Regions from separate parts of the Homo sapiens genome. Here all the other regions are linked to region 1. The links are contacts of gene promoters, found by promoter capture Hi-C in blood cells and fetal thymus (Javierre and others, 2016). All regions are on one chromosome and are shown on one strand. The core of a region is centred on a gene start or on the middle of the fragment in contact, and the rest is flanking DNA. Distances in the headings are between cores, read along the strand shown.

What was found. The method cuts DNA at HindIII sites, captures the fragments that hold promoters and counts their contacts. A CHiCAGO score of 5 or more calls a contact.
Region 2: a fragment that was not itself captured here is called in contact with the fragment with the promoter of RFT1 in region 1 in 2 of 17 cell types (naive B cells and activated CD4 T cells); the score reaches 5.4 in naive B cells.
Region 3: a contact is called between a fragment that was not itself captured here and the fragment with the promoter of RFT1 in region 1, in 1 of 17 cell types (M2 macrophages). The highest score is 5.1, in M2 macrophages.
Region 4: the fragment with the promoter of ALAS1 here is called in contact with the fragment with the promoter of RFT1 in region 1 in 2 of 17 cell types (neutrophils and monocytes); the score reaches 11.4 in neutrophils.

What each region holds. Positions count from the first base shown.
Region 1 is chr3:53,128,298-53,131,751 of GRCh38, reverse strand. It overlaps RFT1 (RFT1 glycolipid translocator homolog), which reads left to right and starts at 1,317. Exons shown (of 13, transcript NM_052859.4): 1 at 1,317-1,414. The coding sequence starts at 1,352. RefSeq lists enhancers at 912-961, 972-1,171, 1,212-1,261, 1,272-1,461. The HindIII fragment of the contact is 8,425 bases long and covers 1-3,454 here.
Region 2 is chr3:53,712,508-53,715,911 of GRCh38, reverse strand. All of the region lies in intron 9 of CACNA1D (calcium voltage-gated channel subunit alpha1 D), which reads right to left. Among named protein-coding and RNA genes, the nearest start is that of CHDH, 130 kb to the left of the region's middle. The HindIII fragment of the contact is 3,271 bases long and covers 1-3,174 here.
Region 3 is chr3:53,829,088-53,832,620 of GRCh38, reverse strand. The region is part of intron 2 of CHDH (choline dehydrogenase); the gene reads left to right. Among named protein-coding and RNA genes, the nearest start is that of CHDH, 16 kb to the left of the region's middle. The HindIII fragment of the contact is 8,035 bases long and covers 1-3,533 here.
Region 4 is chr3:52,195,964-52,199,473 of GRCh38, reverse strand. It overlaps ALAS1 (5'-aminolevulinate synthase 1), which reads right to left and starts at 1,314. Exons shown (of 12, transcript NM_000688.6): 1 at 1,219-1,314; 2 at 626-802; 3 at 34-264. The coding sequence starts at 232. RefSeq lists silencers at 1,073-1,152, 1,263-1,332 and enhancers at 1,473-1,692, 1,703-1,772. The HindIII fragment of the contact is 12,746 bases long and covers 1-3,510 here.

The DNA.
Region 1 (3,454 bases), core at 68-2,567:
GTTTGGTTCCTGTTAAGTGTATGTTGGGCGCCTTACATTTTACAAAGCCTTCTTCGTGGTTGCAGACAGCTACATTCTTGCTGTATCCTCAAATAGTAAACACAGAGATCATTTTTCTGACATCTCTTTTTATAAGGACATGAATCCCATTATGACGGCTCCACTTTCAGGACCTAATTACTTCCCAAAGGCCTTACCTCCTAATACTATCACACTGGGGATTAGGCTTCAACATATGAATTTTGAGGGTACACAAACATTTAGTCCACAGCAGGTACCAGCTGTGGTTGGCCAGGAAAGTCAGGACAGTGTGGTCTAGGAGGGCAAGGGGTGCTGTCAGGGAAGACACTTTGGACAAAGAGGGTGGAGGAGCAAAGGCCAGTGAGTCACCGCCTGTTTGAGGACCAGTAAGGACTCGGAATGGCTATGGCCTAGATAGTGTTGGGAAGGGCAATGATCGTGTGAAAGGTAGTAGAAGATAGGTTGGGGCCAAATCATGTGAGGACTGAAAGAGATTGGGGAAAGACTGGGCTTCCTACAGCCTGCTTGGTAGATAATAAGAACACTGACAGAACAGCAGCTGATTGTGTATGTTGGGCGCTTTACATTTTTTTACAAAGCACTTCCAGTCCTTCTTCCACTCTGCCCTCACAATTTCTAGCATACAGGCAAGAGTGATAAGTTTAGGATCAGGAGCCTGGTATCCACTTAGTCAGGAAACAAGTTGTGTAGATTCGAACAAGTCACTTCCCATCTCCAAGGCTTTACTCATCTCTAACCACAGGGGCCAATTCTCAGAGCTTTCGGAAGGATTTCACAAAACCATACACATAACAGTGCTATATCTAACTTCTGGTCCTCAGTTCTTTCTCTGTTAAATGAGGACAATTCCTGTCCAGCCTAATTCAGAGGGTCTGTGGCTGTGATTCTGTAAGCAAAGGTCAATGGTGAGAATCTTCTTAACGGGCCAGTGAGAAGTTTGTTCCCCTTTTGGCAGATGAGGCCAGGAAAGTTAGTGCTTCTTGGTTGGTGGCTGAAAGCCTCAGAGAAGGAACTTTGGATTCTTTAACGGTATCTCTTAGTACTCGCCACACTATTTCGTTTATACGGGGAAGAGAGGGACAGACAGCGCACAAGCGACAGACAGCGCAAAACCTACCGAAATAGAAAGAGCCAGGCGCCATAACAGACGGCCCGAGACAGGCCCACTTAAAGGACCAGAACTTCTCGTGCCCCGCCCCCCTCTCTCAAGGCCATCAATCAGACAGCGAGGCGCGCCGTGACGCCATCTTATCGCGACTAAACGGAGTGGCGGCGGCATTTCCTGGTGTCTGAGCCTGGCGCGGAGGCTATGGGCAGCCAGGAGGTGCTGGGCCACGCGGCCCGGCTGGCCTCCTCCGGTCTCCTCCTGCAGGTACTCTCTGCCCTTCAGGTTCCAGCTTGTACTGCAGCCGGGATTCGCGGGATGGCAGCCCTTGGGCCCTTGAGAGCCTGCCCCAGGGCCGACCCAGTCCCGAGGTGGACCCCGCAATGGAGGGGGTGGGGGGGTCGACCGGAGACGGTGGCATTGATGAGGGGGGACCCTGGCCCGGAGATAGGAGCCTGCCTTTAGAGTCTAGGCCGGGTGACTGCAGACAAGCCGCTTTCCTTCTGAGCATTCTATTTCCCATATGGCAGTAGGAGTGAATTAGATCAGGTGGCGGGGGTGAGGGACTGGTATTTCGTGCTCGAGAATCTGATATTTTTCAGGCAAGGGGTTCATTTCCTTCATCAAACACCTTCCTCAAACTTTGAGTCCCACTGAGTTCCGAGAGTCCATATGGCATAGCTAAGAAGAGAAATCTGGAGTTAGGCTTGGATTGCTCCGTGACCCAGGACAAGTGACTTCACCTGCAGAGCCTGAGTTCCTCACTAGTAAAATGGGGGTAATAATATGTCGTACTTAGCTCATAAGCAGGGATTGATTGGGATCATTCAAATAAACGTACTTAACACAGTACCCGGCTCTTAGTATGCATTTAATACATGTTGGCTGCATCTTCTGTTTATGTGATCTTGGACAAGTCACTTCCCTTCTTGGCCCTAATTTTTGTCATCTGTCAGGTATGATACAGGCCAGTTAGTCCAAATGGTATCTGAAGATTCTTTCAACCCCAGGAGCTGAACCTCTTAAGTCAAGTGGCTCAGTATCTCTCTGTCTCACTCTTGAGCCAATCAACCCTACTTCACACAAGTCCCGAATCTACCCTACCCCTTATCTTAGAGAGGCACATGGAGGGCAGAAGAAAGAACCAAGCAGAATGGGGCTTGAGTTTGGGCCTTGTCACTTGCTAGATGCCTGCCTTCGGGATAAATCCGATGACTTCTGTATCAGTTTCTTCATCTTAAATGAGAATCATAGTGCAACCTCACAGGGTCATTAGGAAGATTAGATGAAATCATGCCTCTTAAGTGCCTGGCACACTACAAGTACTTAATAAATGTAGCTATTTTTATTAGGGTAATAAGTATTTTTAAAATAGTCAATGTAGGAATGAAATGAGATAACCTATGGAAAGCATGTTGAAGAGTGCCTTGCACGTGATATGTGCTTAGTAAATGTTAGCCATTCTAAGTTTACCTAGGGATTTTTTTTTTCTGTTTCACTACATAAATAACTGAGTTTATTGTTTTATCCACAATGTTGGTTTTTTTTCAGCCTTTGATAATATCTTACTACTCAGATAGGCTTCATAAAACGAAAACAAGTTATAACGGAAAACACACTGGACTACGAGTCAGGTGGCTTACCTGTAAGGTCAAGCTGGGTCATTTACTTGCCGTGTGACAGTGAGGAAATCACTTAACCCTCAGTCTTGCTTCCTGTGCATTTACCTCGTTGTTTTTAGTGTCAAATAATTTAACAGATGTGAGAGAGCCTTTTTGTTAAAACTGTAAAGTTGGCTGGACGCGGTGGCTCATGCCTGTCATCCCAGCACTTTGGGAGGCCAAGGCAGGAGGATTGCTTGAGCTCAGGAGTTGAAGACCAGCCTGGGCAACATGGTGAAACCTTGTCTTTACAAAAAATACAAAAATTAGATGGGCGTGGTGGCATGCACCTGTAGTCCCAGCTACTCAGGAGGCTGAGGTGGGATGATCTCGAGTCTGTGAGGTTGAGGCCTCAGTGAGCTGTGATTATGCCACTGCACTCCAGCCTGAGCAACAGAGTGAGACCCTGTCTTAAAACAAAAGCTGTAAAGTTCTTTGCAGAAGTAAATGAAGGCTGTGTTGCTAATAAGGACTGCAGTGTGTGGCAAATACTGGGTGGCGTAAGCAACCTCAGTTTCATTAGCTGCAACCTTTATTCAAACCAATTAGGAGACATGGATATGGCCTGGAACATTAAGTTTCTTAGACAGTGGTAACTTTGAGGTTAACATAAGTATGTACACATGGTGTTTTGTTTTTTGTTTTC
Region 2 (3,404 bases), core at 290-2,789, 580 kb before region 1:
TGTATGAAATGTTCTAGTTGCTCCCTAGACTAACTGTGGGGAAAGACAAGAAGTAAAATCGAACTCCCCAAACAGCAACAAAGAGGGGAAGATAGTCTCACAGCACTGTGCCAGGGCTCCACTGAGGGTGAGGCAGGGTCCTCCTGCTCTCTGAGCTGATTCTGTCCTTCAGCTGGGTTGGGATAGTGGCTGAGAGCAGGTGCACAGGTTGGCCAGATCTAAGTTTAACCCCGCGTTTGTGACCTGACTTCTGTACATCTCCATTGCCTCACCTGTAAAAGGGTAAGAATGAGATGAGGCATGCGGAGTGCTGGGTCCCCAGGGCTGGATGATCAGTGAGGCCCACACATGTTAACTCCATCATCTCAGAAAAGCTCTCCTGGAGCTCCCTGGAAGCAAAGCGACCAATCCAGTGTCATTTTGCCCTGGCCACTTTCATCATTGCACAGACGCATCTAGTGTGAGCCATCTTCCATACCTCTGAATCAGCTTTGGCCATCATTCTTGGTTTGTATTTTCTCTGTCTTTAGCTGAGTTATTGTCTAACTTTGCCTACTGTAGGCATAGCAACTTCTCCTGTCATAGTTGTTTGACACCTAAAGAGCCACAGGCACATAATAAATAAATATATCCCAAAAAGATGTTGCCAGGGCTGAGGATGAGCAGAGGCAGACGGAAAGAAAGAGGACAGTGCCTACGCTAGAAATTGGAGACCTCATTTGGTCCTGGAAACAGCCCTTGATCCAGCCCCTAAATCTGGGCAGAGGAAACGCACTCTGACCAGGGCCCTGGCAGCCTACCTTCTCCAGCCACTTACTCCCTATCACAGGATCCTTTTCCAAAATATTTCCAGAAGAAATATCACACTTATCCTTTTCCAAAAATATTTGAAAAGATCAGGCTCAGTGGGTATAACAAAGACCTCATTTATTAAAAATAAAGCATTTTACCCTTCACTTGCATTAGGCATTCATTTTTTTAATGTTAAAAAATTAATATGACTTTCCCTTCCTTTAGCCCCAATAGGATCTCATCTATGTTTTTAAAAAATAAAGAAAAGAATCATAGACTGTTAGAACCAGAAGGGGCTTCTGAGAATACGTGAGCAAACTCTTGATTTCTCAGAGGACAGAACTCGCCAAAATGCCTTGGGACACACAGCTGACACTGAGAAATCTCTCCTAACTTCCACTCACCATTCTTTTCAAGTATGTACTGTGGTTTCACTGGTATACATTTTGGTGTTATGTACTTAAAATTCCACAAATCAACAAGTTCCAAAAAGCCAAACGAGTCTATTATCTACCAGTGCTGGTTTACTATTCTGATGACCTTTATTAACCACTCAAAATCTGGCATATAACCAGATCACTTACAGGATATCAGCTCAGTGACCGACGACAGCACAAAAATCAGGCTGCAATGGTGACGACTGGGCTTTTATAAAAATCCAGACAGAAAGAGTCATACAAACTCATGAAGGTAAAGCCATGGGCAAATTACCCGAATACATGGGCTTCTCCTAACTGGCTTCCATAGCATTGTGACTGCCCCATTTAGGTGATGGCCTTGTCCCCTTCAGCAGGGATTCAGTGTTAATTGCTGACAAGTGGCTAGGCCTTATTAGAGGTGCAGGCAGACCCCTCAGACCTCCCCACATTGCCGACAAGTGCCAGTCCCCTACTGTAGAAATAAGCACCAGGGGCCATCTGCACATGAACAAGCTGTGAAGCCTCTTCCCTGACACATTTCAGGAAACTGGAATGTTAGAGCTTTGTTAGAGAAGTTTATTTTTTATATAAATTTAAAAACTACTTTCAGTGAGTCTGGGAAAAACCAAGCATTAGGAAAGCCTGTGACCTGTGAGAGGATGCTGGCACTGCAATTTGCCTGCTGAAAATCTGGAGAAGCTCAAGGCCTATATTTTGCAATCTATTCCAGGCATTGGGATCTCTGGGAAGAGCTCCAGGGCAGACCCTTAGGCTTACAGTGTGGTGCACTGAGATTGGTGGCGGGGGGCCTGGGTGCCACTGGGGGTGAGAGGATGGTGGCAGACAGCAGCCCTGCATGTCCCAGACTGTAATTAGAGTTTCCAAGGCCTTTGCAGCATGGGCAGCCGGGCCAGGCCCCTACTTGGAGCACTCTGTGGATGTGGGTCATGGTGCTTCTCTTTAAGATCTTGCACTGGGCCAGATGTTATCATGGGCAATGCCACACACAGTAAACCAGGGAAATCTGCTGCTTCTCAGGTAAGCACAACTAGCATTTTCACCAAGGTGTAGACATTTATCCATCTACTCTCATGCTGAAGGACGACATTCGTCTCAGCCAAATGTGTCAGGCTTGTGAATTTGGAGGCAAATCTCTCACACACACACACACACACACACACACACACACACACACACATACACACAGAGCAAATGAGTCTATGTGTGGGTCCTAAGCAGGCAGCCTCAAAATTATGTTCACCATTAACAGGTATAGCAAAATCTCAGATCAACCTTCAGTGATGGAGGCTGATGAGGTCAAAAATGATGGAAGAAATGTCAGGAAAGCCTGGTGCTTATCATCAGGTGACAATGGGACAAGTGCCTCTTTTCCCCTATGCTTGGCTACCAGATCTGTAAGATGAGTTGTAGGACAGTATCATCTCTAAGATCCATTTACCTCTGACCTGCTATAACTGCAGGAAGGCAGAAACGCCCACATGCTGGCTGGTTTTACTACCAACAACCAGGGGGTTTCCCTTGCATTCCCCCAGCTCTGCAAGGAGGGGAGGGCACAAGAAGTGAGCCCCTGCCCACCACCCTCAGGAGGGAAGCCAGGGGTCCAGCCAGCAGCCTGCACTGGAGAACTGAGTCCAAGTGCTCTGCATGTAGAATGTCCCAGAGAATGGGGTGCAGCACAGGAAGCAGTAGCTCCCCAGAGGCCTCAGGGCGTCACAGGAGAGCCTCAGTCCTCCAGTCAAGGCACCCCGAAGGGAAGGCTTGCCACACATCAAACTGAGCCCAGAGCCCTCCAGCCTCGTCTAGAACCTGTCCCATTAGTAGCCTCATTCACAGATGTCTTTGGCCTCAGAGCCTCACTCCTCTGTTCTCCACAGGACAGACTTTTTTGCACACTCAGGAATTTATTTTAGCATTTCCTTCCACCTCCAAGCAGCCTAAAGCTTCTCATTCTTTTCAAAGGTAAGGGTAGGGGGTGAGGCTGGACAACTGAGCAGTGGCTGAGTTGTGGCTGCCTTCCTAGGGGACAGGGTACCTGACACCTAGACCTCATGTTTTCATCTTATTTTCATGACAAACATGAGCAGTACCATGACGTACAGGCCTGCCAAATCCAGAAGAAGCCCACACACCCCCTAAAGGCACATGCACATGCTAGTAGAGACACATTAGGCC
Region 3 (3,533 bases), core at 683-3,182, 700 kb before region 1:
TTCTAAGGCTGAATAATATACCATTATATGTACATACCACATTTTATCTACTCACCTGTTTTTTTTTGTTTTATTATTATTATTTTTTTGAGATGGAGTCTCGCTCTGTCGCCCAGGCTGGAGTGCAGTGGTACGATCTCGGCTCACTGCAAGCTCCGCCTCCTGGGTTCACACCATTCTCCTGCCTCAGCCTCCCAAGTAGCTGGGATTATAGGCACCCACCACCATGCCTGGCTAATTTTTTTGTATTTTTAGTAGAGATGGGGTTTCACCATGTTATCCAGGATGGTCTTAATCTCCTGACCTCATGATCCGCCTACCTTGGCCTCCCAAAGTGCTGGGATTACAGGCGTGAGCCACCATGCCCGGCCCTACTCACCTGTTGATAGACATTTGAGTTGTTGCCACCTTTTTGCTGTTGTGAATAATGATGCTGTAAACATTGGTGTAAGAATATCTGTTCAAGTTTCTGCTTTCAGGTTTTTGGAGTATATACCTAGGAGTGGAATTACTGAATCACATGGTCTGTGTTAGCTTTTTGAGGAACTGCTAACCTGTCTTCTACAGAATTTGCAACATTTTACATTCCTACCAGCAATGTGCAAAGGTTCCCATTTCTCCATATCCTCATTAACACTTGTTACTTTTCTTTCTTTTTTTTTTTTTTTGAGATGGAGTCTGGCTCTGTTGCCAGGCTGGAGTGCAGTGGTGCCATCTCGGCTCACTGCAGCCTTTATTATAGCCATCCTGATGGGTGTGATAGCCATCAGGATGGGTGTGAAGTGGCAATTCACTGTGATTTTGATTTATAGTTTCATAATGATTAGTGATGTTGAGCATCTTTTCATGTGTTTATTGGCCATTTGTGTTTCTTTCTTAGAGAAATGTCTATTCAAGTCCTTTGGCCATTTTCTATTTGAGTTGTTTGTTGTTGAGTTATAGTTTTAAACACATTCTAGATATTAACCTCTTATCAGATATATGGTTTGCAAATATTTTCTCCTATGGATTGTCATTTCATTCTTGAGAATGTCCTTTGATGCAGTAAAGTGTTTGATTTTGATGAAATATAACTTTCCTACAGGTAGGGTGACACAAGCACCCCTGTGGCCACCAACACTGGGACTGTGCTGGGTCAGACCTGAAGTCAGCACAGGACTGGGTCTTGCCCAAGGCCTGCTGTAACCACTATGTGGCTACCGCCTGTATTCACACAAGGCCCCAGGGCTCTACAGTTAGCCAGCGGTGAAGCCAGCCAGGCTTGTGGCCTTCCCTTTGGGGCGGCAAGTTTCCCCAGGCCCCGGGCAGATAGAGATGCTTTCCGGGAGCCAGGTACTGGAGTCAAAAACATTAGAAAGCTACCTCGTGTTCTATTCTACTGTAGCTGAGCTGGCACTCACACCATGTGACACAGTCCTTCCCACTTTTCCCTTTTCACAGGCAGAGGAGCCTCACACCATGGCGACCACCACAGGCCCACAGGGAGGACTGCCAGGATACCACCAGCATTCACTTAAGGCCCAAGGGCTCTTCAGTCAGCTTGTGGTGAATGCTGCCAGGCCTGAGACTCACCCTTCAGGGCAGTGGGCTCCCCTCTGGCCCAGGGTTGGTCCGGAAAGGCCACTTAAGAGCCAAGGCCTGGAATCAGGGAACCCAAGAGCCCTCTTGGTGCTCTCCTCCACTGTGGCCAAGCTGGTGCCTGATTTTTGGTTGCTATGAAATTGCTCCCTTTGTGCAGATAGTTGTCAAACTTGGTGTTCCTGTGGGGGTGGGGGGCGAGGGGGATGATTGATGGAGCAAATAGAGATTTGCCATCTTGCTCTTCTCCTCCCTGATTTCAGTCTTTTAAGATGTATTAAGATTTGTTTTGTTGCCTAACATATGGTCTCTCCTGGAGAATGTTCCATGTGCACTTGGAAAAAATGTATATTCTCTTGTTGTAGTGAATGTTTTGTATATATCTGTTAGGTCTCCAACTGGTTTATAGTGTTATTCAAATCCTCTGTTTCCTTACTGATCTTCTGTCTAGCTTCTGTCCATTATTGAAATCTGAGTATTGAAGTCTCCAGTTATTGTTGTAGGACTGTTTATTTCTCCCTTCAAATCTGTCATTGTTTGCTTCATTTTGGGGCCCTGATATTTGGTGCATATATGAATTGCATGTTTTAAAACTTCACATATATACAAATATATGTGAAGATATATATATATATATATAATCTCATTTAGGCCACAGCCTCTTATAATATTCTTTTTGTGTGCTGAATATATTTTTAGGATTCATCCATGTTGATGTGAGGTGCTATGTGTCCTTCATTTTCACTGCTGTCTGGGGTTTCTTTGACCAACTGAACTATACCTTTTTCTATGTCCTTTATATTTCCACATACATTTTGAAATCAGCATTTCAATTTCCACCAAAAAAAAAAATGCCTGCTGGGATTGGCATTGCATCGAATCTATAAATCAATTTGGGGAAAACTGACATCATAAAAATATTGGGTCTTCCTATTCGTAGTATTTATTTAGGTCATCTTTAACTTCTGTCAATGTTTTGTAGTTTTCAGTATATAGGTCCTGTATATATTTTAAGTTTATTACTAAGTATGTCATGTTTCCTGGTGCTCTTGTAAGTGTTATTGTTTTGTCTTGTGGTTGCCCATGGAGGGTGGGATCAACCCCCCACCACCCAAAGTTGGTTTGAATGTTGAGACTAATGACATCACACACACACCAAGTGGCTACCATAAGGTTTATTGCTCACATAATGGAGCTTTATAGGGTGAGGAGGGCAAGCACCCAGGCTTGTCTGTGAAGGAAGAGGTGAGTGTTCCTGGTTATTATTATAGTTAGGGAGTGGAGTCAAGGTGAGAATCCCACACGTGAATTGGATTTGCATGACTTGAACCTCCCTGTTGATACTCCAGGCAGGAATGCCAGAGCTTTTTTATTCACTTGCCCAGGTGTGGGGCAAGAGGGGAAGAGGGAGGGATGGAGCTTGAAAGCTATCGGTAGTCAAACATCAAAAATGGAGTCAGGCTCTATTATAGTTTTAAAATACTGTTTAAAAAGGCAGTTTCAGGCTCACAGCAAAATCGAGAGGAGGGTGAAGAGATTTCCCATATAACCTTTGCCCCTACACGTGCATAATCCTCCCATTAACAACATCCTCGCACTAAAGTGGTACATTTATTACAAATAATAAACCTATATTAGCACATCATTATCACCTAAAGCCCATAGTTTACATTAGGGTTCACTCTTGGTATTGCACATTCTATAGGTTTGGACAAAAATGACCTGTATCCACCACTGTACAGAAAACAGATTAGTTCCCCGCCCTAAAAATCCTTTGTGGCCTGCCTGTTTATCCCTCTCCCAACTCCTGGTAACCACTGATCGTTTTACTGTCTCCATAGTTTTGCCTTTTTCAGGATGTAATATCGTTGAACTCATACGGTTTGTAGCCTTTTCTGATTGGCTTCTTTCGTTTAGTAATTATGCATTTAAGTTTCCTCCTTGTTTTTTCATGG
Region 4 (3,510 bases), core at 65-2,564, 930 kb after region 1:
CATACCTGCTCCTTCATTGTCAATGACACTTACTCTCACTGGCCGGAGGGGTTTCTTTGATCTGTTGGTAGTGTACTGCTGCAGTGGACAATGCCCGAGGGGCTGGCTTGGCCCCAACTTCCATCATCTTGGGGCAGTTTTGGGCATAGAACAACAGAGATTTGCCTGCTTTCTGCAGAAAGGCCTGGGGGACTCGGGATAAGAATGGGCAGCGGCGAACAACACTCTCCATGTTCAGGAAGTATGCTGGCTCCTGTGGAAAGACTGATGAAGAGTGACATCAACAGTTGTTAATAATCAGGCAAATATCACTGCAAGCTCACTGGATTCAGGTGTCAACCGCAGTTTATATAAAGGGTACCCTGGAATACTAACACTTCTCCCTCAAAAATGCCTAAGGACAGCACTGATGTGAGCTAAGGAATGGTGACCACACTTTACCCGGGTCACCAACTTCTTCATTCTCCAGCGCTACACAAAGGCACCTGCAAAGCAACTTCACCAAATGAATACTGACAGTACATAATCAAGGGGGCGGAAGGATGAGGGAAAGGTCAAGAACAGGTTTGGGAGGCCAGAGGTTTCTTAGGGAGATGCACAGTGCAGATAAGACATCTTGGCTTACATCTAGGTGGAGAAGAAGCCACTCATCCATCCAGGCAGGGAAGACTCTTAGGGATCCTGACTTTCTCCTGGTCCCCACATCCCCTAAACCCGAGGAAGGGGTCCAGCAGGGTCCCGAGTCCCTGAAGCAAGGATTCCTCCGTGGTCGTGTCCCCACAGCGGGAAGAACTGGGCATAACTGAGAAAGGAGGGGCACAAATGAGGGTAGGGGTATGAGGGCCAGCGCCTTGGGCCTCACTGGGGACGCGCAGGGGCTTATAAAGTCGAGGGAGTTGAGTCTGGAGAAAGAAGGCAGTCCTCCGGCAGTGGGGGTCAGAGGTGACCCGCGGTCGAGGTCTCGAGAATGACGGGAGGGGTATGAGAAGGGAATTCTAAAGCGGCGGGTTCAACCGGGAATAGCCGGAAGGGGCCGAAAGGGGGAAACTGAGGCGGCCGTCTAGGCAAAAGATCTGGAGGATAAACGCTGACCTCAAGGCGGCGGGTGACTGGGACAGTGGGGGATGGGGTCCCAGCACCCGGGGCAGCGGTGCCACGGCTGGCAGGACACCCCGGGGCTTCCTCGGCCGGCGCCGCACCTACCGCGCGGGCCCTCACCTGCGCTGAGGACTGCAGAGGCGGCGGCGAAGGAGGCGGGCACTCAAGTCGAGAAGTCCAAACGAAACGCTCGTTGCCCTTGTCCGGGAGCAGCCTCAGGCCGCGATCGCCGGCGCCTTAATATACAGCGGGAGTGACCGCTGCGCATGCGCCTTGGGCGCTGCCTTCTTCTGCGCAGGCGCGCCGCGTAGCCCTCGGCGAGCCGGGGGGGCGGGGCAGAGAGGCCCACTTCTTGGGCTCTGCGGATATCGGTGCTGCCGGGGATTCCCCGGCTCGCCTGCAGGGAGGAGGAAGCGCTAGGCGGTGGGCGGACGAGGTCTCTTTTCCCGACCTCATCCTGCACCCTCGTGCTGCCTCCCCACCAACTACCCTGGGCTTCAGAACCCTACGCCCCAATTGAGTATAAAATGGCAAGGTCGAGGCGAGGTGCCGCTAGGGCCAAGTTGGGGGCTACAGGGTTGTTAAGCTGGGTGTCTTGGACATGGAGGAAGAAGGAGATCCAAGGGGTTCTGGGCCGGGGTGTTAAGCAGGATCCATCCCGCCTGCGGCTTGCTTTGGAAACTGTGAACAAGGGCTTCCCGGAGGAGGTGGAGCTGGCTATATCGCCCACAAATGGAGTGGTCCTGGCAGGATGCGGAAGAAGCGGGACACTCAGCTGTGGCACTTTCTGGTCTAAGATGATCCAGAGGGGACAGAGGAACAGGGCTAGGGTGGAACCCATCCACTCCACAGCTCTGAGCACTTGGGGAGGAGGGGAAGGCACAGGGCCTGACAATAGTTAGCGTGTAACAAATATTAGCCACTATTTTTATTTTCCATCCAGGGTTGTCTGAAGCCCCTTGCTGGCCACCCTGGGCACCAGCAGGGTGGCTTAGGCCTCCATGCCAAAGGTCAGCGTTGGGCCATACCTCCATTGAGTTTCCCGGGTACAACACATAAAGTGTAGGGCTTGGCAAACCCGTCTCAGGAATGTCAGTCTGGCTTCCTTGCCCCACACCCTTCCCAGCTTGGCTTGGGCTGTGTTGGGCTGGGCCTGTGCCAGGCTCAGAGGTACTCTCCTCCATTCTTGAGGAAAGGGCCTTTGAGGGTATTCCTTTCCCAGCTGAGCATTAACAAGAGGGACAAAGTCCAGAATGATGGTGACCAGGGTGTGTCCAGGTACTTTGCATTTCTGTCTCTGAGCACCCAGCTGGCTGCAAGGCAGGTGAGGTGAGTCTCCACCTTCAGAGGAGGCACCTGGGTTCAGAGTGGCAGTGGGACCAGTCCAGGATGAGGGCTTTGGTCTGAGAGCTCGAGACCCAGTTCTGTGCCATTCAGCCAAGAGATCCTGGGCAGTGCCCATCACCCAGAGAAGATGAGAGAGAAAAGGTCAGCACTTGGACTTGGACCCAAGTGCAGCTGGAAGTGGGAACAGAATAAGGATGATATTGAGTGCTTTGCTCATCTTTGGGCCTTGCTTTCCTTATCTGGGCAATAGGATCATAATCCCTGAAATGCCTGCCTCACAGGTTGTTTTTGTTGTTGTTGTTATTTTGTTTGTTTGTTTGAGACAGAGTCTCCCTCTGTTGCCCAGGCCGGAGTGCAGTGGCACAATCTCGGCTCACTGCAACCTCTGCCTCCCAGGTTCAAGCGATTCTTCTGCCTCAGCCTCCTGAGCAGCTGGGATTACACCACCACGCCCAGCTAATTTTTGTATTTTTAGTAGAGATGGGGTTTCACCATGATGGCCAGGCTGGTCTTGAACTCCTGACCTCAAGTGATCACCCTCAGCTTCCCAAAGTTCTGGGATTATAGGCTTGAGCCACTGCGCCTGGCCCTCATAGGGTTTTTTTGGGGGTGATCAGAGCCAAAGCCAAAGCAGAAAGAACTGGATAGTGGAGTTGGGCATGGGTTTCAAACCCAGCTCTGAATCTTACTTGGCCATAGACTTGGGCAGGCCACAACCTCTTCAAGGCTTGGTTTCCTGATTTGTAAAGCTCTCCCGCCCTGCCACTTGTGGCTGGCAGGAGGGTCAGGTGAAGTCCTGTATTTCAGAGGCTTATTGTTTAAACCAGCCAGTCCCTAGCCCTCTGGGAGTTTCCTGTTTAATATAGAGAAAGATTGGGAAACAAGGCCGACTCACATGGAAAGTGAAATAGAGTGTTGTAAGCAACTCCAGATGGAGGAAGAGGAGGAGGCTATTACTCCAACAGGCGCTGAAAGAGGAGGATCCCAACCACGAGGAAGGCTTCCAGAAGAGAAGCGGGTGCTGGTTGGAAGGGTGGATCTACATGCGACTGGGAGACTGTGGGT